Regions from separate parts of the Homo sapiens genome. Here all the other regions are linked to region 7. The links are contacts of gene promoters, found by promoter capture Hi-C in blood cells and fetal thymus (Javierre and others, 2016). All regions are on one chromosome and are shown on one strand. Each heading gives the region's core, a stretch centred on a gene start or on the middle of the fragment in contact. The rest is flanking DNA. Distances are from core to core; before and after follow the strand shown.

Region 1 (4,136 bases), core at 1,006-3,505, 400 kb before region 7:
AGTCCTTGTGGCCTAGACTGCCTTTCAAGTTTATTTGGAGCCCCAGAGTACTTTAGCTTATAGTGCGAGGCTTGCTAGAACTCAAGTCCTTACCACTGGAATGGGCGATTCCCCTCTGTCTAGGGCTGGTCTAAATGCTCCCTCCATGGGCATGTGTCAGCTGAGTTCATCCTACTTTTGCTTTCTGCTGTGAAAGGGTGGTGGTGAGTTCAATGCAGTATCTCACAGTTGCTGCTCTCTCCCTCTCCCAAGCACACAGATTCTCCATGCCATACAGCTGCTGCTGGGGGATGAGGGAGGGGTAACATTGGCGATTCAAGACTATCTTTCCTACCCTCTTCAGTGCCTCTTGCAGTGACATGAAGTTAAAACCAGGTACTATGAGTGCCCACCTGATTTTTGGTTCTTATGAAGGTGTTTTTTTGTGTGTAGATAGTTGTTAAATTTGGTGTTCCTGCAGGAGGAATGATCGGTGGAAGCTTCTATTTGGCCATCTTGCTCCACTCCTCTATTTTTTATTATTTTTTTTAGAAACAGGGTCTCACTATGTTGTCCAGCCTGGTCTGCATATTTATTCTTATTCCTGACCATTTGTATTTATTCTTTTGTGAATTCAGGATAATCTTTCATAAACATCACTTTTATTGTTTTACTTTTCTATTCAAAAACTAGAGTACTGGCTGGCCGTGGTGGCTCACGCCTCTAATCCCAGCACTTTGGGAGGCTGAGGCAGGCAGATCACAAGGTCAGGAGATCAAGACCATCCTGGCTAACACGGTGAAACCCTGTTTCTACTAAAAATACAAAAACAAACTTAGCCAGGCGTGGTGGTGGATGCCTGCTGTCCCAGTACTCAGGAGGCTGAGGCGGGAGAAATGGTGTGAACCCAGGAGGCAGAGCTTGCAGTGAGCCAAGATCACGCCACTGCACTCCAGCCTGGGCGACAGAGCGAGACTCTGTCTCAAAAAAAAAACCAGAGTATCATTATTTCATACCCCTGATTTTTAAGACCCTTCATAATTTGACCCTAACCTATTTTTCTAACTTAATATTGTCCAGCAAGAGTCACTCTACTCCAATAAGAAATATTTTTTTATTCATACAACTCACTCTGTTACTTTTTTTTTTGGATTCATTTTAGCAGTGTTTTCTTCTGCCTACCCAAAATCTTGCAAGGATTCTTTTAACTCACCTTGTAATAAAATTGTAATAAAGTAGCTCAGATCATCTAGCCTTCATCAGTTTCTTCCTATTTGAATTCCCGTGGTAACTATTGTTTCTACCACTAGGTTTAGGAGCAAATTATAGACTGCCTTGTATTTCTTATCAAGCACCAGCTGTGTGCCAGGACACAGCACAGTCTTTATAGCTGTGGACAGAGCACAATCTTTGTCCTTAAGTTTATAGTATAGTAATGATGCATTTTCCAGTTATTTGCTTATTAGTGAAGATCTTCTTTTCATACACATCTGTACATATGAACCATACACATGTTTTTAGGTATATAGTTTATGGGTTTCCAACTGGATTGTAAGATCATTGAGGGCATGAACCATGTTTATACTTCTCTATTCCTTAAAACACGTAACTCAGTTCTGAGCATGTAGCCATCACTAAGTATGTACATGCTCTACTTCTGTAGTAAGAAAAGTTGGAGGCTATGGAGATACATACCTGGCCTCAAATTATAACTCAAGACCTTATGAACCAACTGTGCAACATTTGGAAGTTATGTGGCTACTCTCAGTCTATGTCCTCATAAAGTAAGTATCTGCCTCATGAGGTTGCCATGTGGGTTAAATGAGATCTATATGTAAAGCATTTAGCATAATGCCTGGTACAAAGTAAGTGCCCATTAAAGGATACCTGTTATAATAATTTGTTTAACCTCTCAAGCTAGAAATGGATTCAACATCCTTTTATTTCCCTAATCCCTTTCATTTAAGCATTTACCAAATTCTTCTCAGTTTACTTTAATTATGTTGTCAATTTAGCTCTCCTTTTAATCCTCGTTGTAACCCACCATAAGAAATACATTTTATATTGTGGCTTAGAATATACTGTTTATTTGTACATATCTGAAACAAAAGTCTTATGAAATAATATTCATTGTTACAATATGTGATACACTCTGATATTTTTTGTTCTGTCCTATGTACATTTTTTTTTTTTTTAAACCTGGTCACAGCCATTAAAACTGATTTCACAACATACAGTCTGAAACACACTGGTCTGGATTTTTAGAATCTGCAAAATTTCAACTACCACTGAACAGGATAATGTTCAAGTGAAAGTTTTCAATGAAATAGAAAACACAGAGCTTAGAGTTTATTAGGATTCCACTTTGTCTTTGTTCTCTATTAGTTATATATTGTTAGATTTACCTATGCTCAATCTGGTTTCACTGCTTAAGGTGGAAGTGTTTAGTTGGGCCTATTCCAGTGATGTTATAGAATAAGATTACTCAGCAGTTGGGGCAGAGATTTCCACCTTGCAAGGAAAGAGTTTCTTAACCATTTTATATGTGTAGTCTTTTCTTTATTTTTCTTTTTTTTTTCCTTTTTTGAGACGGAGTTTTGCTCTTGTTGCCCAGGCTGGAGTGCAATGGCACGATCTCGGCTCACTGCAATCTCTGCCTCCCAGGTTTAAGCAATTCTCCTGCCTCAGCCTCCCGAGTAGCTGGGATTACAGGCACCCACCATGCCCGGCTAATTTTTAGTAGAGATGGGGTTTCTCTGTGTTGGTCAGGCTGGTCTTGAACTCCTGACCTCAGGTGATCCGCCCGCCTTAGCCTCCCAAAGTGCTGGGATTATAGGCTATGAGCCACCACGCCCAGCCATGTGTATTATTTTCTTAGGACAGAAATATACATGGATATATGCATTTAAAAGTCATCAGCATCATTCTTGTAGAGGAGCCTGAAAAAACCTTTTTTTTTGTTTTGTTTTGTTTTGTTTTGTGACAGTCTTGCTCTGTCGCCCAGACTACACTGCAGTGACATGATCAAGGCTTACTGCAGCCTTGACCTCCTGAGCTTAACTGACCCTCCCACCTCAGCCCCCCAACTCGCAGGGACCACAGAAAATTCTTTATTCGGAAAATTTTAAGCATTTTTACAATGTAGGAAGAACAGTATAATGAATCCCCATTACCTAAATTCAGCTTTAGTAGTTACCAACATTATGTCAATTCCAAAGGAATTTTTAATAAAAAATTTTTAAGGGACACATAATTGCCTCCCTTAATTTACAGATAGATGATTTGTTTTTCAGAAGAAATATATCAGCCTTATTGTACTTAACTTTAGTCCTCACAACCTATTAATTTCATCTGATCCCCAAAAGAGAAGTAAATAATTACATGACACGAGGGAGCAGAGATGACATGATATCTTCTGCCTCATTTAGATTTTCCTGATGGCCTCCTAGAGCACTAGACCCTTGCTATCTTACCTGAAATAGTTCAACAGCCTCGTTACCATATCCCAACCACCCACTCCTTACCACCTGCCTTACTACCATTATACTGATCTTTAATAATGACTTGAGGAGAGGAGAATCTCATTACATTTATCCTCTGTTTAAAACTTCCTTGGGGCCAGGCCTGATGGTTCACACCTGTAATCCCACACTTTGGGAGACTGACAGGGGGATCATGTGAGACCAGGAGTTTGTGACCAGCCTGGGGAACATAGCAAGACATCATCTCTACAGAAAAGTTTAAAAAATTAACCAGACTTGATAGTACATCCCTGTAGTCCTAGCTACTCAAGAGGCTGAGGCAGGAGGATCACTTGAGCCTAGGAGTTCAAGGCTGTAGTGAGGTATGATAGTAGCTATGTAGTAATGCCACTGTACTCCAGCTTGGGCAGCAGAGCAAGACTCTGTCTCTTAAACAAACAAAAAAACCTTCCTTTGTTCTTCCTTCCCTACCTATGAAATAAAACCCCAAATCATAGATTTTCATTCATAATCTGGTTGCAGCCTATCTTTCTAGCCTTCTCTTCCACTGTCTGTTTCTTCTCTACCATTTTAAGCTTCCTGGTATTCCTAGAATACGTAACCTATTTTAGGGCTTGTACTTACTTTACAGGATCCCATTTAGATACCAACTTGTGGATGAGGCCATTTTAACTA
Region 2 (3,940 bases), core at 300-2,799, 340 kb before region 7:
CAATTAGAATGTGCACGGGCGTTGTGGAAGCTGAGATAGGAGTGCTGACCTCTGCCTGGCATGGCTGAGCCCTCCCTGAAAGATAATTGTGTTATGTAGATAAAACTTAATGGGTTGTGTTCATTCAGCATGTATTATTATACACTATATGGTTCAGTGTCCTGACCATACTATAATTTTGTCATTCGTTTCTGATATTGAAGGAGCGCTAGGCACTGTGCTAAGTCATAGGGATGTAACAGTGAGCAAGAGACACCATCCCGCCATCAGGAAGCCTGTATTATGTTGGAGGGGTGGATAATAAAACAAAGATGTGAACCACATACTTACAGTGTAAGAGGTGCTTTGAAGGAAATAAAGATATTCATATAAAAGAGAGGAAAAAGTAGAGGGTAACTTTAAATAGAGTAGTTAGGGTGGACCACTCTGGGAATGTGTCATTAGAAAAGACATGAAGAATAGGCTGGGTGTGGTGGCTCACGCCTGTAATCCCAGCACTTTGGGAGGCTGAGGCGGGCAGATCACCAGGTCAGGAGATCGAGACTATCCTGGCTAACAAGGTGAAACCCTGTCTCTATAAAAATGCAGAAAATTAGCCAGGCGTGGTGGCGGGCGCTTGTAGTCCCAGCTACCTGGAAGGCTGAGGCAGGAGAATGGCGTGAACCTGGGAGGCGGAGCTTGCAGTGAGCCGAGATCGCGCCACTGCACTCCAGTCTGGGTGACAAAGTGAGACTCCGTCTAAAAAAAAAAAAAAAGAAAAGACATGAAGAATAAAAATGAGCCAGCCATGGAGAGCTGGGAAGACTTTTTGTTTTGTTTTGTTTTTGATTTTTTTGGAGACAGGATCACACTCTGTTGCACAGGCTAGAGGGCAGCGGCGCGATCTCGGCTCACTGAAACTTCTGCCTCCTGGATTCAAGCGATTCTCCCACCTCAACCTCCCAAGTAGCTGGGACTACAGGTGCCCACCCCCACACCTGGCTAATTTTTGTATTTTTAGTAGACACGGGGTTTCACCATGTTGGCCAGGCTGGTCTCAAACTTCTAATCTCAAGTGATCCACCTGCCTCGGCCTCCCAAAGGGCTGGGATTATAGGCATGAGCCACTAGGCCCGGCCTGAGGAGACTATTACTGGCAGAGGCACACTGCAGAGACCTTGAGGTATCGGGATAGGGTTTAGAACAAAGAGATGCCAGTGGCTGGCACAGAGCAAGAGTGATGTAAATTTGGAGAGAAAACCTAGAGCCAGATCATGCAGGTTCTTGGAGGATGAGGTAAAGAATTTGTATATAATTCCAAGAGCAATGAAAAGCTGTTAAATTATTTTAAGCAGTAGAGTGATATGATCTGATTTACATTTTTCAAAGCTGGAGGGACTGTAGAGAGGTGTCAGGGGAGGCAGGGAACTAGGTAGAAGGCCATTAATAGGAACAAGAGATGGTGGCTTGGACTAGGTGGCAGCAGTAGACATGAGGCAGAGTGGACGAATTTAGTTATGTTTTGGACGCTGTTCACAGTATCTGGATTTTAGGGATTGCAATAAAGGGAAGGATGAAGGATGATTTTGGCTTGAGCACCTGAGAATACCGGCAACAAACAGGTTTTCTTTTTTTTTTTTTTTTTTTTGAGATGGAGTCTTCTCTGTCACCCAGGCTGGAGTGCAATGGCGCAATCTCAGCTCACTGCAACCTCCACCTCCCGGGTTTAAGCAGTTCTCTTGCCTTAGCCTCTGGAGTAGCTGGGATTACAGGCGCGTGCCACCATGCCCTGTTATTTTTTTATTTTATTTTATTTTTATTTTTTTGTATTTTTGGTAGAGACGGGGTTTCAGCATGTTGGCCAGGCTGGTCTGGAACTCCTGACCTCGTGATCCGCCCCCCTCGGCCTCCCAAACTGCTGGGATTACAGGGGTGAGCCACTGCACCTGGCCACAAACAGGTTTTCTAGGGTTGGAAATTGAGAGCTATGATTTGGACATTCACCTGCAGCTGTCAGGTTGGCGCTTGGGTGTGAGTCTGGTGGTCAGTTGAAAGGTCAGGGTTGGAGATAGAAATTTGGAAAATCATCAGCACATAGAAGCCTTTTTTTTTTTTTTTTGAGACAGAGTCTCACTCTGTCACCCAGGCTGGAGTGCAGTGGCGTGATCTTGGCTTACTGCAAGCTCCACTTCCCGGGTTCACACCATTCTCCCACCTCAGCCTCCCAAATAGCTAGGGCTACAGGTGCCCGCCACCACGCCTGGCTAATTTTGTTTTTGTATTTTTAGTAGATATGGGGTTTCACCGTGTTAGCCAGGATGGTCTCTATCTCCCGACCTCGTGATCTGCCTGCCTTGGCCTCCCAAAGTGCTGGGATTACAGGCGTGAGCCACTGTGCCCGGCCTCATAAATGCTTTTTAAAGCCATGGGACTGGATATAACTAAGGATATAGTGAAGTTAAATTAAAAGAGGCCTGGAACAAAGCCCTGGGACATTCAGCACTTGGAGGTTGGAAGGGGAAGATGAGATAGTAAAGGAGACTGAGGTAAATATGACTAATGAGGTAGGAAGGAGTCCACGTTTGTAATGGAAGCCAAGACAAGGAAGGGTTTCTGCAGTGGATTATACATATTACCTCATTTTATTCTCATAACAGCCTGTGGAGGGTATTTAAGAAAACCAAGGTAAGTGTGTCTAAGTAACTTGCTCAAAAATACTCAGCTTGCAGGGCACAGTGGCTCACGCCTGTAATCCCAGCACTTTGGAAGGCCAACGCAGGAGGATCGCTTGAGCCCAGGAGTTTGAGACCAGCTTGGTAAGATAGTGAGACTCTGTCTCTACAAAACAAACAAACAAAGAATACTGAGCTGGTAAGCCCAGGCTCTTAACTGCTCAGCATATTTCTCAAAGAAAGGTGAGCCCAGTCTTGCTGATGTGTTAAAAGGTTAAGTGAGACAATTATAGCGAGTTGGATTTTGCTACACAGACATTGCTGATGTTGCTCAGAACCAACAGTGGTAAACTGGCAGAAATAAAATCCTGATCTGAGTGGGTTGAACTGTAAAGAGGAGGTGAGGACAAGCAAATAGACACTGTAGGTAACCTGGAGAACCTTTCTTGCCAAAGAGAACTAAAGTAAGGTGAGGCCATGTGCAGTGGCTCATGCCTGTAATCCCAGCACTTTGGGAGGCCGAGGCAGGCGGATCACCTGAGGTCAGGAGTTCAAAATCAGCCTGGCCAACGTGGTGAAACCCTGTCTCTACTAAAAATACAAAAATTAGCCGGGCGTGGTGGCGCATGCCTGTAGTCCCAGGTACTCGGGAGGCTGAGGCAGGAGAATTGCTTGAACCTGGGAGGCAGAGGTTGCAGTGAGCTGAGATCGCACCACTGCACTCCAGCCTTTTTTCAAAAAGAAATGAGGTGAAAGCTCGGGAATGTGGGTCAAGAGACATTTATTTGTTTTTACTTTGTTTTTTAGGTGGGGGGAATCAGATCCTGTTTGTATGCTTATGGAATTATCCAGAAGTAAAAGGGGTGAATGATGTAGAGGAGAAGGAAGGGATAACTGTGCCATCTTTGAAAAGGCAACTGGAAATGGGATCCAGAGTAAAGTGGAGAGAACCAGGGAAGATTCCATTAAACTGGACCAGAAGCTTGAAAGAAGAGAAGTGGCTTAGTAAACAAGGAACAAACTAGCTAAGTAGAAAGGGGACTTTTAAAATTTAATTTTTATTTCAATAGGCTTTTGGGAACAGGTGGTGTTGGATTATATGAATAAGTTCTTTATTGGTGGTATCTGATATTTTGGTGCACCCATCACCTGAGCAGTATACACTGTAAACCAATGTGTAGTCTTTTATTCCTCACCCCCACCCCCCGCCTTTCCCCTGAGTCCCCAAAGTCCACTGTATCATTCTTATGCCTTTGTGTCCTCATAGCGCAGCTCCCACTTATGAGTGA
Region 3 (3,793 bases), core at 86-2,585, 420 kb before region 7:
CCTTTTGTGACTAGTTTTCTTTCACAATATTTGTTTCTCTTTATGGCTGAATAATATCTATTGTTTGGATATACCATATATTGTGGGGTTTTTTGGTTTCTTTTTTCATTTGTTTAGTTTTTTTTCAAGCCAGGGTATTGCTCTGTCGCCCAGGCCAGAGTGCAGTGGTGCAATCATGGCTCACTGTAGCCTCAACTGCTGGGGCTCAAGCAATCCTCCCACCTCAACCTCCTAAGTAGCTGGGACCACAGGCACGCACCAACACACCCAGCTAATTTTTTGTATTATTTGTGGAGATGAGGTCTTGCTATGTTGCCCAGGTTGGTCTCAAATTCCTGAGCTCAAGCAATCCTCCCGCCTCAGCCTCCCAAAGTGCTGGGACTACTGTATGAGCCACCACGCCTGGCCCATATATTGTTTATCCGTATTTCAGCTAATGGATATTTGGGTTGTTTCTATTTTTTATCTATTTTGAATAATGCTGCTGTGAACATTCGTGTACAAGTTTTTTTGTGAACATGTTTTAATTTCTTTTGGATATAAGAGCTTGTACAATAATTTAAAAATTATGTACAATTTAAATTTTGGCATGAATATGTTCTTAATTTTTCAAAGCAACTGCATTTATTTCAAATTGGTACACCTCTTTTTTTCAGCGAGTACTGAGCCATCAAGATGATACGGCTTTGCTAAAAGCATATATTGTTGAATGGCGAAAGTTCTTTACACAATGTGATATTTTACCAAAACCTTTTTGTCAACTAGAGATTACTTTAATGGGTAAACAGGGCAGCAATAAAAAATCAAATGTGGAAGACAGTATTGTTCGAAAGGTAAGACTATTTTTCTCCTTGTTTTCCTAATATTCTTCAGAAAGAGGGTAATTTGGAAGCATTTGAAAGTAATTTGAACTTTTAAGTGGGTTTTTCTACTTCACATGTCAATTGCTTTTCAGCTCTTAACTAGATTTTATTGAATAATATTCTTTTTTGTCTTTAGCTTCAATCTTCTTTCATCTTTTTATGTGGTCTTAAGCTATAGATCTGCATCTTCAACCATTATCTCCTTTACTTTTCCTTTTTACTTTCTCCTTCTCCTGGTATTCAGTATTTTATTTCTCTATTCTTTCTTTGTACTCTTTTTTTTTTTTTAAACTGGAGTGTCACTCTGTCGCCTAGGCTGGAGTGTGCAGTGGCGCAGTCTGCTCACTGCAACCTCCGCCTCCTGTGTTCAAGCAATTCTCCTGCCTCAGCCTCCTGAGTAGCTGGGACTACAGGCACGTGCTACCACACCCGGCTATTTTATTGTATTTTTAGTGGAGACCAGGTTTCACCATGTTGGCCAGGCTCGTCTCGAACTCCTGACCTCAGGTGATCTGCCTGCCTCAGCCTCCGAAACTGTTGGAATTACAGGCGTGAGCCACTGCACCCAACCTATACCCTTACTAGAAATTAAATTACTTTTCTCCCTGTCTCAAAAATCCCCTTTTATTAGGTTACCTTCTGATATCTTTATGTTTAATTGTGGCTAAACTGCTATCTTTATAATTTCCCTTTTACTTAACTCTTCTATTATAAATTCAGTATATACTGTGCTTATTTTCTATTTAAAAATTGTGTCAAGTAACCAGTCATGATTTAATGGAAAGAACTCAGTGCTGAATATGAAGGGTCCTAGGTTTCCCTTTCAGCTCTTCAAACTCCGTCCTCATTTTCCATATATCTTTCCACTTGTAAGAATAAAATGGGACCGTAGATTTGAAAAGTAAAAAATGCCATTTGAACTTTAGTCAATTTACTGTTTACTGTGATGGTTACAGTAAAACACTCAGGCATTACAATAGTGTAACCTGGGCATTGTTGCCCCATCCCAGCCTTAAAATTTGATCTGATGTTGACAGGGATACTGTAAATTTAGATACCCAGTGGTTCTTCAGTGATAGAAATCACTGCAATATGGGAAATTTGTGCCAAGGGAAAAAAAAAAGTGAAAAACACTTCTGGCTGCGATTTAATTTGTAGTCTCATAATCTTGTCCTCTTTTTTTGGCCATTCTATTGGTTGTGGGAAGCAGCATCCACTTAGTGATTAAGTGTATCAATTCTGGGGCCACAGTTTTTGGATTCAAATCTCAGTGTTGCCACTGATGAGGTGCATAAATGTGGAAAGTTAGCTTTGCTATCTGTACCCCAGGTTTCACATATCTAAAGGGGGGATAATCATAGTACCTATATCAAGATTATGAGGATTAAATGAGTTACATGCAGACAATACATAGAGCAGTCCCAGGTATAGAATGAGTGTTATAAAACTGTTAACTCTTGTTGTTATTGTTGCTGTCATTAATGTATCTCCTACATCTGACCAAGTTTCTTGGAGTACTGATATAATCACCAATGTTTATATACCATTTTTATCATTTTAATGGAACATCTAAACAGTAGATTTGCAGACCTTTTATAAGGTCCAGTATCAGATTTTCAGTTGGTCCTTTTTACATTTTTTATGTGTCTTTACAAACATATGCATATGTCTATTTCAAACACACCAATATATCTGAAATTCAACCATGGAACTATAGGAGAATAAACATTTTCCATGTATTATCATAGTTAATTTTTACAACCACTGAAATTTGCACTATTATTTTGACCATTTTATACATAAGAAAGCAGATAAATAAGTAACAGCTGGGATTCAAATCCAGTTGGATTCTGAAACACTTGTTCTTTATTTACTTTTGTTTTGTTTGAAATGGGCTCTTGCTGTGTTGCCCAGGCTAGAGTGGAATAGTGTGATCTTGGCTTGCTGCAGCCTTGCCCTCCTGGACTTAAGTGATCCTCCCACCTCAGCCTCCCAAGTAGCTGGGACTACAGGCACATGCCAGCATGCCTAGCAAATTTTTGTATTTTTTGTTGTTGTTGAGATGGGTCTTACTGTGTTGCCGAGGCTGGTCTCAAACTCCTGGCCTCAAGTGATCCTCCCACCTTGGCCTCCCAAGGTTTTGGGATTAGACCACACGCAGTCGACCCTTCTTTACCATTATGCTAAATATACTGCTTCCCCGAAGTATTCAAGTGAATGCAACCTAAGTTATTTTGAGACAGGGTCTTACTCTGTCACCCAGGCTGGAGGGCAGTGGCGTGGTCTCGGCTCACTGGGACTACAGGCGTGCACCACCACACTGGGCTATTTTTTTTGTATTTTTTTGTAGAGACAGGATTTTGCCCTGCTGCCCAGGCTGGTCTTGAACTCATAGACTCCAGCGATCCACCTGCCTCGGCCTCCCAAATTGTTGGGACTACAGGCGTGAGCCACTGCACCTGGCCCAGGCCTACAAATTTGATTTCCTTTTTTGGTGTTTGTACATGATACTTTGTATATTAATAATTGAAAATTATGTTACAATTTGTTCTTGTTTTCCTAGCTTATGCTTGATACATGGAATGAGTCAATCTTTTCAAACATAAAAAACAGACTCCAAGATAGTGCAATGAAGCTGGTACATGCTGAGAGATTGGGAGAAGCTTTTGATTCTCAGCTGGTTATTGGAGTAAGAGAATCCTATGGTATGTTCTGAACTTTTATGATCATAATTTCTGTTTCATGGAAATTGTAGAACAATTATGGAATAGCACAATCAAAGTTAAGTTTATTGGCATACAAAGTTACATCTACTTTTTGTACTAGATACTTTTTTTGAGAGTAAGCAAATGATAATTCTGCTTAAAAGAATGTATAAAAATTCATATTAATGTGGTTAATATTTTCTTCATGCCATTAATTTCTTGGCA
Region 4 (3,620 bases), core at 641-3,140, 380 kb before region 7:
ATTTGGTTTTCTAATACATTACATCATTTATATGTGTGCTTAAGTAATACATTTTGGAGATATTGTTAATGTCAAAGAAGTAGGAAACATTTTATAAGAATATAGCGTCAGTTAGGCCGGGCGCACTGGCTCATACCTGTAATCCCAGCACTTTGGGAGGCCGAGGCAGGTGGATCACCTGAAGTCAGGAGTTCAAGACTAGCCTGACCAACATGGCAAAACCGCGTCTCTACTAAAAATACAAAAATTAGCTGGATGTGCTGGTGCACTCCGGTAATTCCAGCTGCTTGGGAGGCTGAGGCAAGAGAATCACTTGAACCCAGGAGGTGGAGGTTGCAGTGAGCCAAGATCGTGCCATTGCACTCCAGCCTGGGTAACAGAGTGGGACTCCATTTCAAAAAAAAAAGAATATACCATCAATTATATAAAATAAAGTGATATCTAATAAATGTTCTTAATACTTTCAGTAAAGTATCTTTGTTCTTGAGTTGTTTCTACTGTTTCACTCCCATTTGTACCTCAACTCTCATTTAAACTGACCTTATTAATAAATAGACTACAGGGGCTGGGCACGGTGGCTCACACCTATAATCCCAGCACTTTGGGAGGCCAAGGCAGGTGGATCACAAGGTCAGGAGATCGAGACCATCCTGGCTAACACAGTGAAACCCAGTCTCTATTAAAAATACAAAAAAATTAACGAGGCGTGGTGGTGGGGGGCCTGTAGTCCCAGCTACTTGGGAGGCTGAGGCAGGAGAATGGCATGAACCCTGGGGGGCGGAGCTTGCAGTGAGCTGAAATCGAGCCACTGAACTCCAGCCTGGGTGACAGAGCAAGACTCCATCTCAAGAAAAATAAAATAAATAAATAGACTGCAGGACAAATTATTATATCTTTAAGGTATTTTCAGTACTAAATGCTTAACTTTAGAGATGTTTATAAATGATAACAATAAATACTTCTGTATAGCAAAAAGAACCTTTAAATGATGGCCTATTTAGGGTAATCAATGCTGATTATAACTAAATTCCCATATAAAGTATTTTGAGTTCTTTTTTTGTTTTAATTATTAAAGTAAATATCTTTAATTTCTGTGTATGTATATAACTCTCTCCACATATATATGGAGAGAGAGAGAGTGCGAGCAAGCACACACGAGAGAGACCTACAGATATTTTAACTTATAGCTAGCCCTTCGCATGGAACTTTAGGATAGTAAAAATTACTGTGCTAACTGAAACTGCTTAGTAGGAAAAAGAATGATTATTCTGTGACTTTTTAAAACTATTGTCAAAAGACTCAAAACTCTTACTGTCACTTATAAGTATATAGGAAAAAGGGGAAAATAGCAAAACTAATACATATTTACTACGAGAAACCTTTAGAATTAAATTTTCTTTCTTTCTTTCTTTTTTTCTTTTTTTTGGAGATGTAGTCTTGCTGTGTTACCCAGGCTGGATTGCAGTGGTGCAATCTTGACTCACTGAAACCTCTGTCTCCCAGATTCAAGCAATTCTCCTGTCTCAGCCTCCTAAGTAGCTGGGACTACAGGTTTGTGCCATGACGCCTGGCTAATTTTTGTATTTTTAGTAGAGACACGGTTTTGCATGTTGGCCAGGCTGGTCTTGAAATCCTGGTCTTAAGTGATCCGCCTGCCTCGGCCTCCCAAAGTACTGAGATTACAGGCGTGAGCCACCACACCCGGCCTATGTTATTTCTTTGTTAAAAAAAAAATATCAAGACCCAACAGTAAAATGACAAACAAGGCTAGGCATGGTGGCTCACACCTGTAATCCCAGCACTTTGGGAGGCTGAGGAGGGCAGATGGCTTGTGCTCAGAGTTTGAGATGAGCCTGGGCAACGTGGTGAAACCCCATCTCTACAAAAATTTAAAAAATTAGCTGGGTGTGATGGCATGCACCTTAGTCCCAGCTGCTTGGGAGGCTGAGGTGGGAGGATCGCCTGAGCCTGTGAGGTGGAGGTTGCATTGAACAGAGATCTTACCACTGTACTCCTGCCTGAGCAACAGAGTCAGATCCTGTCTCTCTCACTCACACACACACACACACACACACACACACACACACACGACAAATAATTAAAAGCAGGCAAAGGATTCGAATTGACATCTCTTCACAGAAGATAGACAGATGGCCAATAAGTGCATGCAAAGATACTCAACATCATTAGTCATTAGTGAAATGCAAGTGAAATGCTCAACATGTTGGCTCCTGCTTATCCCAAATATTTTGAAAGGCTGAGGTGGGAGGATTGCATGAAGCCAGGAGTTAGAAACTACCCTGGGCAAAATAACAATACTCCATGTCTACAAAAAATACAGAAATCAGCTAGGCATGGTGATGTGTGCCTGTGGTTCTAGCTACTCAGGAGGCTGAGATGGGATGATTGCTTGAGCCCAGAAGTTCAAAGTTGTAATGAGCTGAGATTGTGCCACTGCACTGCAGCCTGGGCAACAGAGTGAGACCCTTTCTCAAAAACAAAAAAAACACAAAGAGATACTACTTTATTCCCACTAGGGTAGCTAAAATAAAGACAGATGATAACAAATGCTAGTAAGGAAGAGGAGAAATTGGAACCTTCGTAAGTTGCTAGTGGAGACATAAGATGGTGCAGACACTTTGGAAAACTGTTGGGCAGTTCCTTAAAATGTTGAACGTAGAGCTGACCCAGCAATTTCACTCTTAGGTAATTCATTTGAAGAGAAATGAAAACATGTTTCATGTAAAAACTTGTAAACAAATGTTCATGGCAAGATTACTAATAATAGTCAAAAAGTGGAAACAACCCAAAATGTCAGTGAGCTAATGAATAAAATGTGATTTATCCATACAATGGAATATTTTTTGTGATAAAAAGGAATAAACTAATAATACATGCTGCAATATTAGGTGAACTTTGAAAACATAATGCTGAGTGAAAGAAGCCAATCCCAAAGACCATATCGTATGATTCCACTAATGTGAAGTGTCCAGAATAGGCAAATCCACAAATTCCAGGAGTTGGGGCCAGGAGGGGAAATGACGAGTGACTGTAAATAGTATGGGGTTTCTTTTTGGGGTGATGAAAATGTTCTAAAATTAGATAGTGGTGATGGTTGCACAGTTCTGTAGATATACTAAACTTCATTACACTGTATATTTTATTTTTATTTTTATTTTTTATATTTTTTTGAGACAGAGTCTCACTTTGTTGCCCAGGCTGGAGTGCAGTGGTGCGATCTTGGCTCACTGCAACTTCTGCCACCCAGGTTCAAGCGATTTTCCTGCCTCAGCCTCCTGAGTAGCTGGGATTACAGGCGCATGCCACCATGCCCAGCTAATTTTTGTATTTTTAGCAGAGATGGGTTTCACCATGTTAGCCAGGCTGGTCTTGAACTCCTGACCTCAGGTGATCCACCCGCCTCAGCCTCCCAAAGTGCTGGGATTACAGGCATGAGCCCAGCCAAATTGTATACTTTAAAATAGTAGATTTTATGGTAGATAAATTATCTGACACAGTAAAGCTGTTAATAAAGAGTAGTTTGAATAGCTTTTGCCTTCTTGTGTAACTTGACAGAGTAAGCATCTTTTCTTTGCCTTGGAGAGTTGTCACACCCCCTG
Region 5 (3,678 bases), core at 979-3,478, 460 kb before region 7:
CTTTAGGCACTGGTTAACGATTGGTTAACAAACGAAGACTCTTGAAAGGGTAAGTGACTATACAAGAGTTAGAGAAGAATAGCTCCAAATTAGTCATTAAAATTTGTTCCCCAGAATTCTCAGTACCCCAGATAAACCCATTCTCTCCCTGGGTTCCCTGCCTCTTCTAGCAAGGATTAGGAGCATTCCCAAAAATCCTGTGGACTTGGGATAAAAGTGTCCCTCCCCAGCTTCTGCACTTACAACTACAGCAAAGAAGTCCGTTTACTTTTTTATTCTAAGTGAAACTTGGTTCCCTCCTGAAGTCACTGTTTTTTCTGCATCTCTCTCACAAGATGGCTGATGTACCACCGGGCCTACAGTTCGTGCATGGGTCCTCTTTGCTCCCACTGCCACTTCCAGATCATCCTCCCCATTCCCTAAAAACGCTCAGCTCTGAGTCTTGTGTCAGTCAGCTACTCATGCATTAATGCTCCTTTTCATTCATGTAATGACTTCCCAGATCATATGCCCTCATTCCTTAATGAATTTAGATCTTGACTCCAATATCATTCTCTCCAGCATTATTCCTGTGGTCATTCTTAGTGATTTCAACTTCTATATAAAAGATTATTAGTTACTTGGGAGGGTGAGGCAAGATAATTGCTTGAACCTGGGAGGCGGAGGCTGCAGTGAGCCGAGATTGCGCCTCTGCATTCCACTCTGGGCGACAGAGCAAGACTCTGTCTCAAAAAAAAAAAAAAAAAAAAAAAAAGATTATTAGTACCCTGGTGTTTTATTAAGGTTTCTCCTGAAAGCGAGTCTGAAACAAGGACCTGGGATAGAAGTGATTTCTTTGGGAGATAACCCAAGAGGCAGGAATGAGAAAGTAGGGAGAGTAAGATAAGGAAGGAGGAAAAGTGTGCCATCAAGGTCACCACCATGAACAAAGGGGACTCAGGTCCACTGAGATCTCTGGGAAGCATCCTGAGTGCCCCATAAAATTGTCCACCAATGGAACAGAGGTTGGGACACATATCCAGTGGCTGCTGACTCTCCTGGTTGGCAGTTGTCCCCAAAAGCATTGTCTTCCTTGTGCTTTGCTGCACTTGTCTGTGGACCTAGCAGGCTCCTGGACCTTCAGAGAAGACCTTGAGGTGAAAGCAGAAAGGAGAGGTGCTCTTTTCATGTGGGAAGGTATCAGGGACATCTGAGCTCACATAGAATGTTCATAGCCGCTGATGAAATCAGAAATAGGTCAAGAGGATGTGACTGAACACCGAAAGCGTCTGGTATGCCTGGCTTCTCCATTCCTTAACCTCCACTTTTCTAATGATTCTGTTCTCCTGTTCTCCAACTCAACTACTCTCTCTCTCTCTCTCTCTCTTTTCTTTTAGACAGAGTCTCACTCTATTTCCCAGTTAGTGGGTAATGGTGTGATCTCAGCTCACTGCAACCTCCACCTCCTGGTTTCAAGTGATTCTCATGCCTCAGCCTCCTGAGTAGCTGGGATTACAGGTGTGCGCCACCATGCCCAGCTAATTTTTGTATTTTTAGTAGAGACGGGGTTTCACCATGATGGCCAGCCTGGTCTCCAACTCCTGGCCTCAAGTGATCTGCCCTCCTTGGCCTCCCAAAGTGCTGGGATTACAGGCGTGAGCCACCGCGCCCAGCCAACTACTCTCAATCTTGATCAGAGTGTAGCCTTTGTCACTACCCATAATGCTCCCAATAACAACCTAAGCTCAATTTCATTCTCCAACTATCCCCTGCTATCTTTTCAGCCTAGTACCTCTTCCATCTTGACTCCAGCAATCCTTAGACTCCAATGTGAATGGACGGTACTTTGACCCTACTGTTTTTTCACTGTTCTTTGCCTCCTAATTCAGCTTAAATCCAAGGGTCGATCATCATACTCACTCCCTTGTATATATGCTCAATGCCCTCCATCATTCTCTCTCGGCAAAACCCCAACTTTGGTTACATCCAATTCTACGCCTGCACCCGAGTGGCTGAATATGTCTTTTGAATCAAACAGGTCCTGCCACGTAGGAGCTGTGAGACCTTAGGCACATTACTTAACCCTGGTGAATGTTAATTTCCTTAGCTATGCTGAGAGACCTCAATTAAAATCTGGGATAACTAGTCTCAAGTTGGCACTTAGGGATGCCCAGGAATCATTATATATTTCTCTTTCCTCTTCCACCATCATAGATAACAATTTCCCATCTTCTCCTTTTCTCCTTTCTTCTTAAACCTCACAGCATCCTCACTATCAGCTCATGACCTGGCTTCCAACTTCAATTAGAGAAGAGAAGCAATCGGAAGAGAATCTTCACTTCCAAGAGCCTATCGACGGTCTCGTGTCTATCCTCCTAGTAGGTGTGACTGTCCATGGTGCTAGCCAAGGTGCACCTCTCCCCATGTGTGCCCTAAGTGCCATCCTCTTGCCTTATCAAGAACATGGTTCTAGCACATTTTCTCCTTTCTATCCTTTCCATCATCATTTTTCCCCTTCTAAATGATGGATCATTCACATCAGCTACCTGACTCTTCCTCTTCTCAGGTGTGAAGTTTAAAAGATACTTAAGGCCGGGCGCAGTGGCTCACGCCTGTAATCCCAGCACTAAGGGAGGCCAAGGCGGGTGGATCACCTGAGGTCAGGAGTTCGAGACCAGCCTGACCAACATGGAGAAACCCCATCTCTACTAAAAATACATTAGCCAGGCATGGTGGCACATGCCTGTAACCCGGGAGGCAGAGGTTGCAGTGAGCCAAGATTGCACCATTGCACTCCAGCCTGGGCAACAAGAGTGAAACTCTGTCTCAAAAGAAACAAACAAAAAAAGATACTTAAGGTCTCCACAAGGAGGAATTAAATTCCTACATCAAATGTATTCATCTATGTAAAGTGCATAGAACTGTGTCTGACATATGGTAAGCATTATATGTTTTAGGTCTTATTATTACTACATTTACTGAGTGCTTACACGTGCAATACATTTTTTTCCTTTTTCTTTTTCTTTCTTTTTTTTTTTTTTGAGACAGAGTCCCGCCCTCTCACCCAGGCTGGAGTGCAGTGGTGCAATCTCGGCCCACTGCTCAACTCCCGGGTTCAAGCGATTCTCCTGCCTCAGCCTCCCCAGTAGCTGAGATTACAGGCACCCACCACCATGCCCAGCTAATTTTTGTATTTTTAGTAGAGACGGGGTTCCGTCATGTTGGCCAGGCTAGTCTCAAACTCCTGACCTCAGGTGATCTGCCCGCCTTGGCCTCCCAAAGTGCTGGGATTACAGGTGTGAGCCACTGTAATACATTACATTACAGATACAGACAAGGAAACTATGACTCAGCAGGGTTAAGTAATGTACCCAACGTCTCGTAGCTCATAAATGGCAGGATCTGTTTGGTTCTAAAGCACACATTCTTAAGTATTCTATGAGAAATTCTGGGCCACTGATGCACAAGAATTCTTGGCCACTGGTGTACAAGGAAAGTCACCTGGGATGCTTAGGGAAAAGGTAGATTTGGGGCCTCACTCCTGACCTGTAGAATCAGAATCTTCAGAGGGTAGAGCCTAGAAATCTGCTTTTAAAATAAGCACCCCAGGTTATTTTGATGTAAATGATCAGCCACATTTGACAAACTCCTTTATATATATTTTACTGCATACACAGAAAACAAATGAGAAGAATAAAA
Region 6 (4,086 bases), core at 1,477-3,976, 440 kb before region 7:
GGACCAGAGAATAGTTAATTAAGAATGTGGCTTTAACAGAGCTAAACTGCTTGGATTTGATTTCCTGCCCTGCCACTTACTGCCTATAATTTTTGACAAATAATCTAACTTAATCTCAGGTTGTACAGTGTGCATAAAATGGGAATAGGCCAGGCACAGTGATCATGCCTGTAATCCTAGCAGTTTGGGAGGCTGAGGCAGGAGGGCCACTTGATCACTTGAGGCCAAGAGTTTGAACATGCAGTGAGCTATGATTATGCCACTGCACTCTTGCCTAGGCAACAGAGCAAAATCTTGTCTCAAAAAATAATAATAATAATAATAAAGGAATAATATCACTGAACACATAGGATAGTTGTGAAGATTAATTCATACTTGTAAAGTGTTTGGAACAGTACAGCACCTAACATGTAACAGTCAGATATTATAAAGTAAAATAATCACAGTGATTCAGTGATTTACACATCTACGCTGAAGATTATAGTGAAGTTAATAGAAGATACAAATGCTGAACTAAAATTTATTTACAGATGTCAGATATTCAAACCATTCGTGGAAATGTAAGGAAAATCAAAAGAAGTCTTTTGTACAACAGATACCACATTACAAAATTTGTTGGCCTTTATAATCCCCAATTAGTGAAATGCCATATATTTGCAATAAAAAAAAATAGTAGAAAATCTTGGAGTGGAATGATTAAACAAAGACAGTAGAAATGAGAAATTTTTGCTAAATTCCATCCTTCCATAATCTCAATTTCAAGCATCCTACTTGATTACCTGTTACCACCCTGTCTTTCTGACTCTCTCTAGTGCTTTTATTCCAACAGTCCACCTCCACTACTAAAGCCTTCAGTTCAGTGACTCTGCTACCTCATTGTTTAATGTCTTATATCTGTGGTTTATAGTTTTTATCAAATTAGAAAACATTTTTGCATTTTTCTTCAAATACTCTCTACACCCTTACATCAAGATTCCAATTATGTGTACGTTAGGTCATTTGATGTTCCACAGCTTACTGATACTCATTTAAAAAATATTTCTATGATGTTCATGCCATCCCATACCTTTTTGGTCATATAGAATATGTATAGTAGCTGACTTAATGTCCTTGTTTACTGAATGTAACACCTGTGTCATTTCTGGGTCAGCTTCTTTTGGTGATTTTTTTTGTCTTGGTGATAGTTTATATTTTCCTGTTTCTTTGCATGCTTGGTAGTTTTTAACTGGATGTCAGACATTGTGAGTATATGTTTTAGGGGCTTGATTTTAAAATTTTTCTCTAAATAGTTTTGGATTTGGCTGTGATGCAGTTAGGTAACTTGGAATCAGTTTGATCCTTTTGAAGCTTACCTTTAAGTTTCGTTAGAGTGTGTCCAGAATATCACTCGGGGTAGGGCTACTTTGGCTCCACTATAGACTCAATAACTTTCTGTGGACTCTACCCAATGCCTGGCACTTTAAAGGGTGTTTCCACTCTGGCTGGTAGCAACACTAACTGTTTCTGGCCCTGTGTGCACTCTGCTGATTGTTCTGCCCATTCCCATTCCTTCCTAATGGTTCTTTCCCCAGTCTCTTACAGTTTTCTCACACCCAGGTACAGGTTAGTACTCAGCCACAGGCCTCAGGGACCTTCTGTATAGATACCCAGAGCTCCCTTGATGCCACAAATTCTAGTCACCTCAGCCTTTTCAAACTCTGAACTCTGCCTCTTAAATGTAGTGAAACCCCTAGCGGCTGTTTGGGTTTCCCCTCCTTGTGATGAGGCCTGGAGACACTCTCTAGGCAGTATGTTTGGACATTTGTAGCGCTCACCTCATTTGTTTTTCTTTTCTCAGGAAGCGCTGTCCTGCACTGCTTTTGGTTTTCTAGTTTGTTTAGGCAGGAGGGAAAATCTGGTTCCTGTTATTCTGTCATGATGGGAAGCAGAAGTCTCTTTCTCTTTTCACCTTGAAGTCCATTTTCTCCGCCTTACCCAACATAAATTCTCTTCTCAATCATTATAGTTGTTCCCTTCAATACACTTTTTGCTTCCTTGCCCCTGTCTTGTTCTGCTTGGGAAAAGTGTACAACCCTGGTTAAATCTGTCTCTTCACTTTTCAGTGCCAGTACCTGTGCAGCTGAATGTCACTCGAGAAAAAGACACAACCGTGCTATTTGCACCTTAAATCCATGACCACAATGAGGCCAGTCATACTGCATTTCCAGAGTCACTTATTCTTCCACTTTCCTAGATGTATTTTTCACATCTTTTCTGTCAACATTCTAACATTTCCTCCCCGATCTTCTCAGACATTGTCGTTATTTCCACATCACTGGGAAATTAAAGCAATAAAATATGAACTTCTCAGAGTCGTACGACATCTATCCTTGTACCAGCACCTACATGTACATTCTTTTGCCTTCTCCTCTTAGCCTGTAGTCACTTCCTCCACATATGCGCTAGATCCCATTCCCTCTTGCCTATCCAGTGCAATTTAAATTCACTAGCAGTTTCTCTCCCTTTCCCCACATCATCAACATTTCATATCCTGGAATGTTCCTGTCAGCATACAATCATACTGTATCCTAGCTTTAAAAAATTATTTGGCCAGGCGCAGTGGCTCACGTTTGTAATCCCAGCACTTTGGGAGGCTGAGGTGGGCGGATCACGAGGTCAGGAGTTCGAGACCACCCTGGCCAATGTGGCGAAACCCCATCTCTACTAAAAATAGAAAAATTGGCTGGGCATGGTGGCGGGCACCTGTATTCCCAGCTACTCGGGAGGCTGAGGCAGGAAAACCACTTGAACTTGGGAGGCGGAGGTTGCAGTGAGCAGAGATCACGCCACTGCACTCCAGCCTGAAAGACAGAGTGAGACTCCGTCTCAAAAAAAAAAAAAAAAAAATTATTATTTTTTCACTTCCTCTCACCCTATCAATTACCATGCCATTTCTTTACTCTCTTATACAGGAAAAATTGTGAAGGGTTGTCTGTACTCTTTCTAGTTTTCTTCTTATTTATTTTTGTTTTTATTTACTATTTGTTTTTTGAGATAGGGTCTCACTGTCGCTGTCGCCTAGGCTGGAGTGCAGTGGCGCCATCATGGCTCACTGCAACCTCCGCCTCCAGGCCTTAGTAGCTGGGATTATAGGCGCCACCATGCCCAGCTAATTTTTTTTTTTTTTCTTTGAGACAGTCTCCCCCTGCTGTCCAGGCTGGAGTGCAGTGGCACAATCTTGGCTCACTGCAAACTCCGCCTCCCAGGTTCAAGCAATTCTCCCACCTCAGCCTCCTGAGTAGCCGGGATTACTGGGGCCTACCACCACACCCAGCTGATTTTTGTATTTTCAGTAGAGACAGGGTTTCACCATGTAGGTCAGGCTGGTCTCGAACTCCTGATGTCAAGTCATCCACCCACCCCGGCCTCCCAAAGTGCTGGGATTACATGTGTGAGCCACCGTGCCCAGCCAAATTTTTTGTATTTTTAGTAGAGACAGGCTTTTTCCATGTTGCCCAGGCTGGTCTCGAACTCCTGGGCTCAAGTGACCCGCCCGCCTCAGCCTCCCAGTGTTGGGATTACAAGCATGAACTATTGCGCCTGGCTCCTCGTTTCTCTTAATTCCACTCTTCATTCCACTCTAATCTGGTATTTGTCCTTACTACTCTGCAAAAACTTCTGTGGACAAAGTTTCAGTAACTTCCATATTGCTGTTTCAGTGGTTATCTTACCTGATCTGTCAGGAGAAATTCTTAAAATTGATTATTCTGTCTTTCTGACACACTTTATTTACTTTTTGTCCAGAATACCATACTCTTGGTTTTCTTGCCACCTGTGCTCTGGTTGCTCTCTTTGTCTCCTTTGCTAGTTCTTACTCCTCTCTCCGCCTCTTAATGTTGGATATCTAAAACCTCAGGCTTGGGTCTCCATCTTTATGTATCACTTCTCTCACAGTGATCTCATCCAATAACAGGTTTTAAAACCCATCTGTATTCTGATGACTTCAAGTTTTTATTTTCTGATAGGCCTTTTAAATTCTAGATTTCCATATTGGACTGCCTATTCAACATTTTCATATGAATGTATAATAGATATGTTAAATGTAAT
Region 7 (4,071 bases), core at 355-2,854:
CGGTGAGTCGAGATCATGCCACTACTCCAGCCTGGGCAACAAGAGTGAAACTCGGTCTAAAAAAAAAAAAAAACAACAACAACAACAAAAAACGACAGATTCTAAAGCATGTTAAAATGTACCATCCAGTAGTGAGGGAGAAATTAAAGTGACGGAGAACTTAAAGGGGCAAAAAAAGGGATAAGTTAAATGGTAAAACCTTTGAGTAGGTGTAAGAGGACACCATCTGGAGCAGAAAGGAGGGTGGGACCGTTGCTGGCTTTAGATAAGAAATAAGATCGACTTTATATGGTTATTATGATGCTCCAGATAAAATAACCATTGTGAAAACCCTTCATAAGTTTTAAGATACTAAAATGTACTACCAGGCCGGGTCTGGTGGCTCAGGCCTGTAATCCTAACATTTTGGGAGGCCAAGGTGGGCAGATCACCTTAAGTCAGGGGTTTGAGACCAGCCTGGCCAATATGGTGAAACCCTGTCTCTAGTAAAAATACAAAAATAAACTGGGTGTGGTGGCGCACACTTGCAGTCACAGCTACTCGGAAGGCTGAGGCAGGAGAATAACTTGAACCCAGGAGGCAGAGGTTGCAGTGAACTGAGATCACGCCACTGCACTCAGCCTGGGCAACACAGCGAGATGCCTTCTCAAAAACAAACAACAACAAAAAACTAACCAAATAAAATGTACTATCAAACAACTGCTCAGGCAATGAAGTATTTTACTACACCCATGTGCCACTTGTAGATTCACAGATAAGTATTTTCCAAGCTTATTATATCCCTAATCAATAAAATTTTTTATCATAATAGATGATGTTTTCACTTATTTATTTTTACGCTTCGTGGAAAAAAGCCCACAAGACGTGTTTGGATTCTTGGTTTCACTTTTAAAGCAGCAAACAATCTTTACTTTGCTTGAATTGGAACCTGTATACGTCCTATTTTGTTTCCTCTACTAAATTTATTGAATAAACAAATGATTCGCGTGGCCTTTATAAGTTTCGTAATTTCGCTTTTCCTTTTTACCTGTGGTCCTTGATGCTAGGGGCAGGAGAAGAAAAACTAACCTATTCTTTAAAAACGCGTTTCCCTTTTCCATCTCTAAAAAAACTGAAAAGACGTAAAACAAATGGGAGGGGGCAAAGGAAAGAAATGAGGAAAAATCTAAGGAAGATTAATGTGTACTTCCCGGTCAGCGGGAAGGTGGACGGAGTAATATCTTTGCGGAGGATTGGGGTGTGGGGATCTGTGAAGGCGCAGTATGAGCAGTAAGGACTTGTCAACCAGCCCGACGCAACTTCACCGAGGGCGAGGAAAGGAGCTCTGAGGAAGGGGTTACTCCCGGGCAGGACTGTAAACCAGCTGGAGGCCTCGCTGGGAGGGCTTTAGAGGAATGAAACGTCCTTAAGAGGGGCGGATGGGGAATGGTATCAAGGGTATGGGTTCTTTAGGGCCTTGAAACAACGAAGGCTCAAACCAGTGGGCACAAAGGCTACCGGAACAGTAGTACGCGCTGAGAGAAGGGACACTATTCCCTTCACCTACCAATCGCTGCTGGCCCGGGCGCCGCTGGACTCCTAGGTAACGTCGCAGGCGGAAATGACGTAACTCAATCCGTTCTGTCCCGCCCCATTGCCCTCCTAGCCCCGCCTTCTAGGCCCCGCCTTTCCTCTATTCGCGCTCTGACAAAGTGCAGGGGATATAGACCAACCGCTTGTGAAGGCTGCTGGTTCTGTTAGAAGCCCGCTTTCGATTGTCAGTGGCTTTGAGGCAAAGGATTTTGGAAGGGAAAGCAAAGTGATTGTCTACGAAGTTGGGCTTAGTATATAATAAAGCCCAGTCATTTCAACCAAGAACCTTAAAGATGTTGAGAAATATAATGAAATATTTTCTATTAATTTTTGTAAAATTTTTCTTGAGATAGGGTCTCAATCTGTGGCCGAGGCTGGAGTGCAGTGGCGCGATCTCGGCTCACTGCAGCCTGGAACTCCCCTGGCTCAGGTGATTCTCCCACGTCAGCCTCCCGAGTAGCTGGGACCGTAGGAGTGCACCACCACGCCAGGCTCATTTTTCTATTTTTATTAATAGTGGCGACAGGGTTTCTCCATGTTGTCCAGGCTGGTCTTGAACTCCTGGGCTCCAGCGATCCCCCCCTACCCCATCTCCCGCCTTGGCCTCCCAAAGTGCTAGGATTACAGGCGTGAACCACCGCGCCCGGCCTATTTAATTAGTTTAATTTATTCATTTGAAAATGAGACAACTGATCCTTCTAGCTATTTGACAGGTCTTGCTCAAGGTCAAAGAATACGTGACTTGCAGTCCAATGTTATTTCTAAATGTAAGCTCTTCAGCTGGTTAAGCTAAACTGCTTTAAGTGAAAACAGACGACCTCTTGAATGAGTTTTCAAATGACCTTAAATAATGCAAGCACTGCTTATCTAAAGCAAGTCTGACTTGCTTGAATTCTGAGTCTGACACTTTGGCAGTGCTTTAGTTGGTCACAGATTATTGCAATGTGAAAAAATCTTGTTCAGAACTGCCCAGTTTTGCTATGTTCGTCCTATGTTCATGCATGGAATATAATTTGTTTGTAAGGAAGATAAACTTTTAAGGAGGGAAAAGAAACACCTGAAGAGAAATTTCCCTGTATAATGAAAACATTTGTACAGAAAAAATTCTTGGTAGGTTAATTCAGTGACTCACTGAACTTCCAGAGTTCTTTAAAATCATCACAATCATAAGCAAGGGGTGAGCTTCAGTTCCTCTTTATGTAGTTGCCTTGATGCATTAATACACAGTAGTTATGAACAATAAACTGTAAAAATATAGTCATGGAAACATTATGTATATCTTAATTTTCAATCTAATAGAAACTGGGTTAAAAAATTTAAATTCAGGCCAGGTGTGGTGGCTCACACCTGTAATCCCAGCACTTTGGGAGGCTGAGGTGGGCGGATCACTTGAGGTCAGGAGTTCAAGACCAGCCTGGACAACATGGTGAAACCCCCTCTCTACTAAAAATACAAAAATTAGCCCAGCCTCCCAAGTAGCTGGGACTACAGGCGCCCTCCATGATACCCGGCTAATTTTTTGTATGTTTAGTAGAGACGGGGTTTTACTGTGTTAGCCAGGATGGTCTCAATCTCCTGGTGGCGCGCTGCCTGTAGTCCCAGCTACTCAGGAAGCTGAGGCAGGAGAATTGATAGAACCCGGGAGGCAGAGGTTGGTTGCAGTGAGCCGAGATAGCGCCATTGCACTTCAGCCTGGCAACACAGCAAGATTCCCTCTAAAAAAAAAAAAAAATTAAATTCAAAATTACACAACAATGTGAATGTACTTAAGTCCACTGAATTGTACAATTGAAACTAGTTAGAAGGATAAATTTATGTATATTTTACCACAATTTAAAAATTTTAAATTAAAAAACTGCAAAACTAAGCCAGTAAATAATTTAGAACAAAAATTCCTAAATGTACTGGATGAAATATAAAAATAAATTTAAGGTATACTGCTGTTTAGATATTATTTTTATTAGGTTGGTGCAAAAGTAATTGCGGTTTTTGTCATTAAACATACATAATTAAACATAATGGCAAAAACCGCGATTACTTTTGCATCAACCTAATAAACTGCATATTTTTAATGTAGTGCTTATCTGAATTATTTTAAAAAGTATTTACAATAGTTACTGTTGAGTACTTATGTTACCTCTAACCTGATCCACAAGAATTCAGCAATTTCTACATAACAGGCTAGAACATTTTCTTATTGCTCTAATACATGTAAAAATTGTTCAGTTCTTTAAAAGTATCTTTCTTTAAAGTAGCCACAAGGGATCATTAAGACTAGAAACTGTCAAGTGTTAGGTTTATTCATTTATATGTACCTGCTTAAATCTAGGAACAGTTTACTAAGACGCAGAACTCAGAAGAACTTCTGGGTGGTTTCACAGAAATCGTTCCTTCCTTCCTTCTCTCTTCCCCTCTCCACTTATTCTCTTCCTCTTCTTTTTCTCTCTTCTTTGTCTTACTACTATTATACAATATATCATATTATATTTATGAAATTAA

Evidence for each region. Contacts are between HindIII fragments. The CHiCAGO score rates a contact against its expected background, and 5 or more counts as called.
Region 1: a contact is called between a fragment that was not itself captured here and the fragment with the promoter of C11orf65 in region 7, in 2 of 17 cell types (total CD4 T cells and non-activated CD4 T cells). The highest score is 6.9, in total CD4 T cells.
Region 2: a contact is called between a fragment that was not itself captured here and the fragment with the promoter of C11orf65 in region 7, in 5 of 17 cell types (total CD4 T cells, naive CD4 T cells, naive CD8 T cells and 2 more). The highest score is 7.7, in total CD4 T cells.
Region 3: a fragment that was not itself captured here is called in contact with the fragment with the promoter of C11orf65 in region 7 in 1 of 17 cell types (total CD4 T cells); the score reaches 5.4 in total CD4 T cells.
Region 4: a fragment that was not itself captured here is called in contact with the fragment with the promoter of C11orf65 in region 7 in 1 of 17 cell types (total CD4 T cells); the score reaches 5.1 in total CD4 T cells.
Region 5: a fragment that was not itself captured here is called in contact with the fragment with the promoter of C11orf65 in region 7 in 1 of 17 cell types (fetal thymus); the score reaches 6.0 in fetal thymus.
Region 6: a fragment that was not itself captured here is called in contact with the fragment with the promoter of C11orf65 in region 7 in 4 of 17 cell types (naive CD8 T cells, total CD8 T cells, naive B cells and 1 more); the score reaches 6.4 in naive CD8 T cells.

Annotation. Positions count from the first base shown.
Region 1 is chr11:108,065,381-108,069,516 of GRCh38, forward strand. The region is part of intron 7 of CUL5 (cullin 5); the gene reads left to right. Among named protein-coding and RNA genes, the nearest start is that of ACAT1, 54 kb to the right of the region's middle. The HindIII fragment of the contact is 3,557 bases long and covers 478-4,034 here.
Region 2 is chr11:108,125,185-108,129,124 of GRCh38, forward strand. The region is part of intron 1 of ACAT1 (acetyl-CoA acetyltransferase 1); the gene reads left to right. Among named protein-coding and RNA genes, the nearest start is that of ACAT1, 5.6 kb to the left of the region's middle. The HindIII fragment of the contact is 4,164 bases long and covers 1-3,631 here.
Region 3 is chr11:108,049,234-108,053,026 of GRCh38, forward strand. It overlaps CUL5 (cullin 5), which reads left to right. Exons shown (of 19, transcript NM_003478.6): 4 at 657-833; 5 at 3,427-3,568. Among named protein-coding and RNA genes, the nearest start is that of CUL5, 42 kb to the left of the region's middle. The HindIII fragment of the contact is 4,378 bases long and covers 1-3,524 here.
Region 4 is chr11:108,089,644-108,093,263 of GRCh38, forward strand. All of the region lies in intron 13 of CUL5 (cullin 5), which reads left to right. Among named protein-coding and RNA genes, the nearest start is that of ACAT1, 30 kb to the right of the region's middle. The HindIII fragment of the contact is 5,776 bases long and covers 1-3,620 here.
Region 5 is chr11:108,001,447-108,005,124 of GRCh38, forward strand. No RefSeq gene overlaps it. Among named protein-coding and RNA genes, the nearest start is that of CUL5, 5.6 kb to the right of the region's middle. The HindIII fragment of the contact is 4,460 bases long and covers 1-3,678 here.
Region 6 is chr11:108,024,122-108,028,207 of GRCh38, forward strand. The region is part of intron 1 of CUL5 (cullin 5); the gene reads left to right. Among named protein-coding and RNA genes, the nearest start is that of CUL5, 17 kb to the left of the region's middle. RefSeq lists an enhancer at 1,800-1,899. The HindIII fragment of the contact is 2,762 bases long and covers 1,346-4,086 here.
Region 7 is chr11:108,465,925-108,469,995 of GRCh38, forward strand. C11orf65 (chromosome 11 open reading frame 65) reads right to left here and starts at 1,605. Exons shown (of 9, transcript NM_152587.5): 1 at 1,547-1,605. RefSeq lists enhancers at 824-1,676, 1,617-1,761 and a cis regulatory region at 1,689. The HindIII fragment of the contact is 4,195 bases long and covers 769-4,071 here.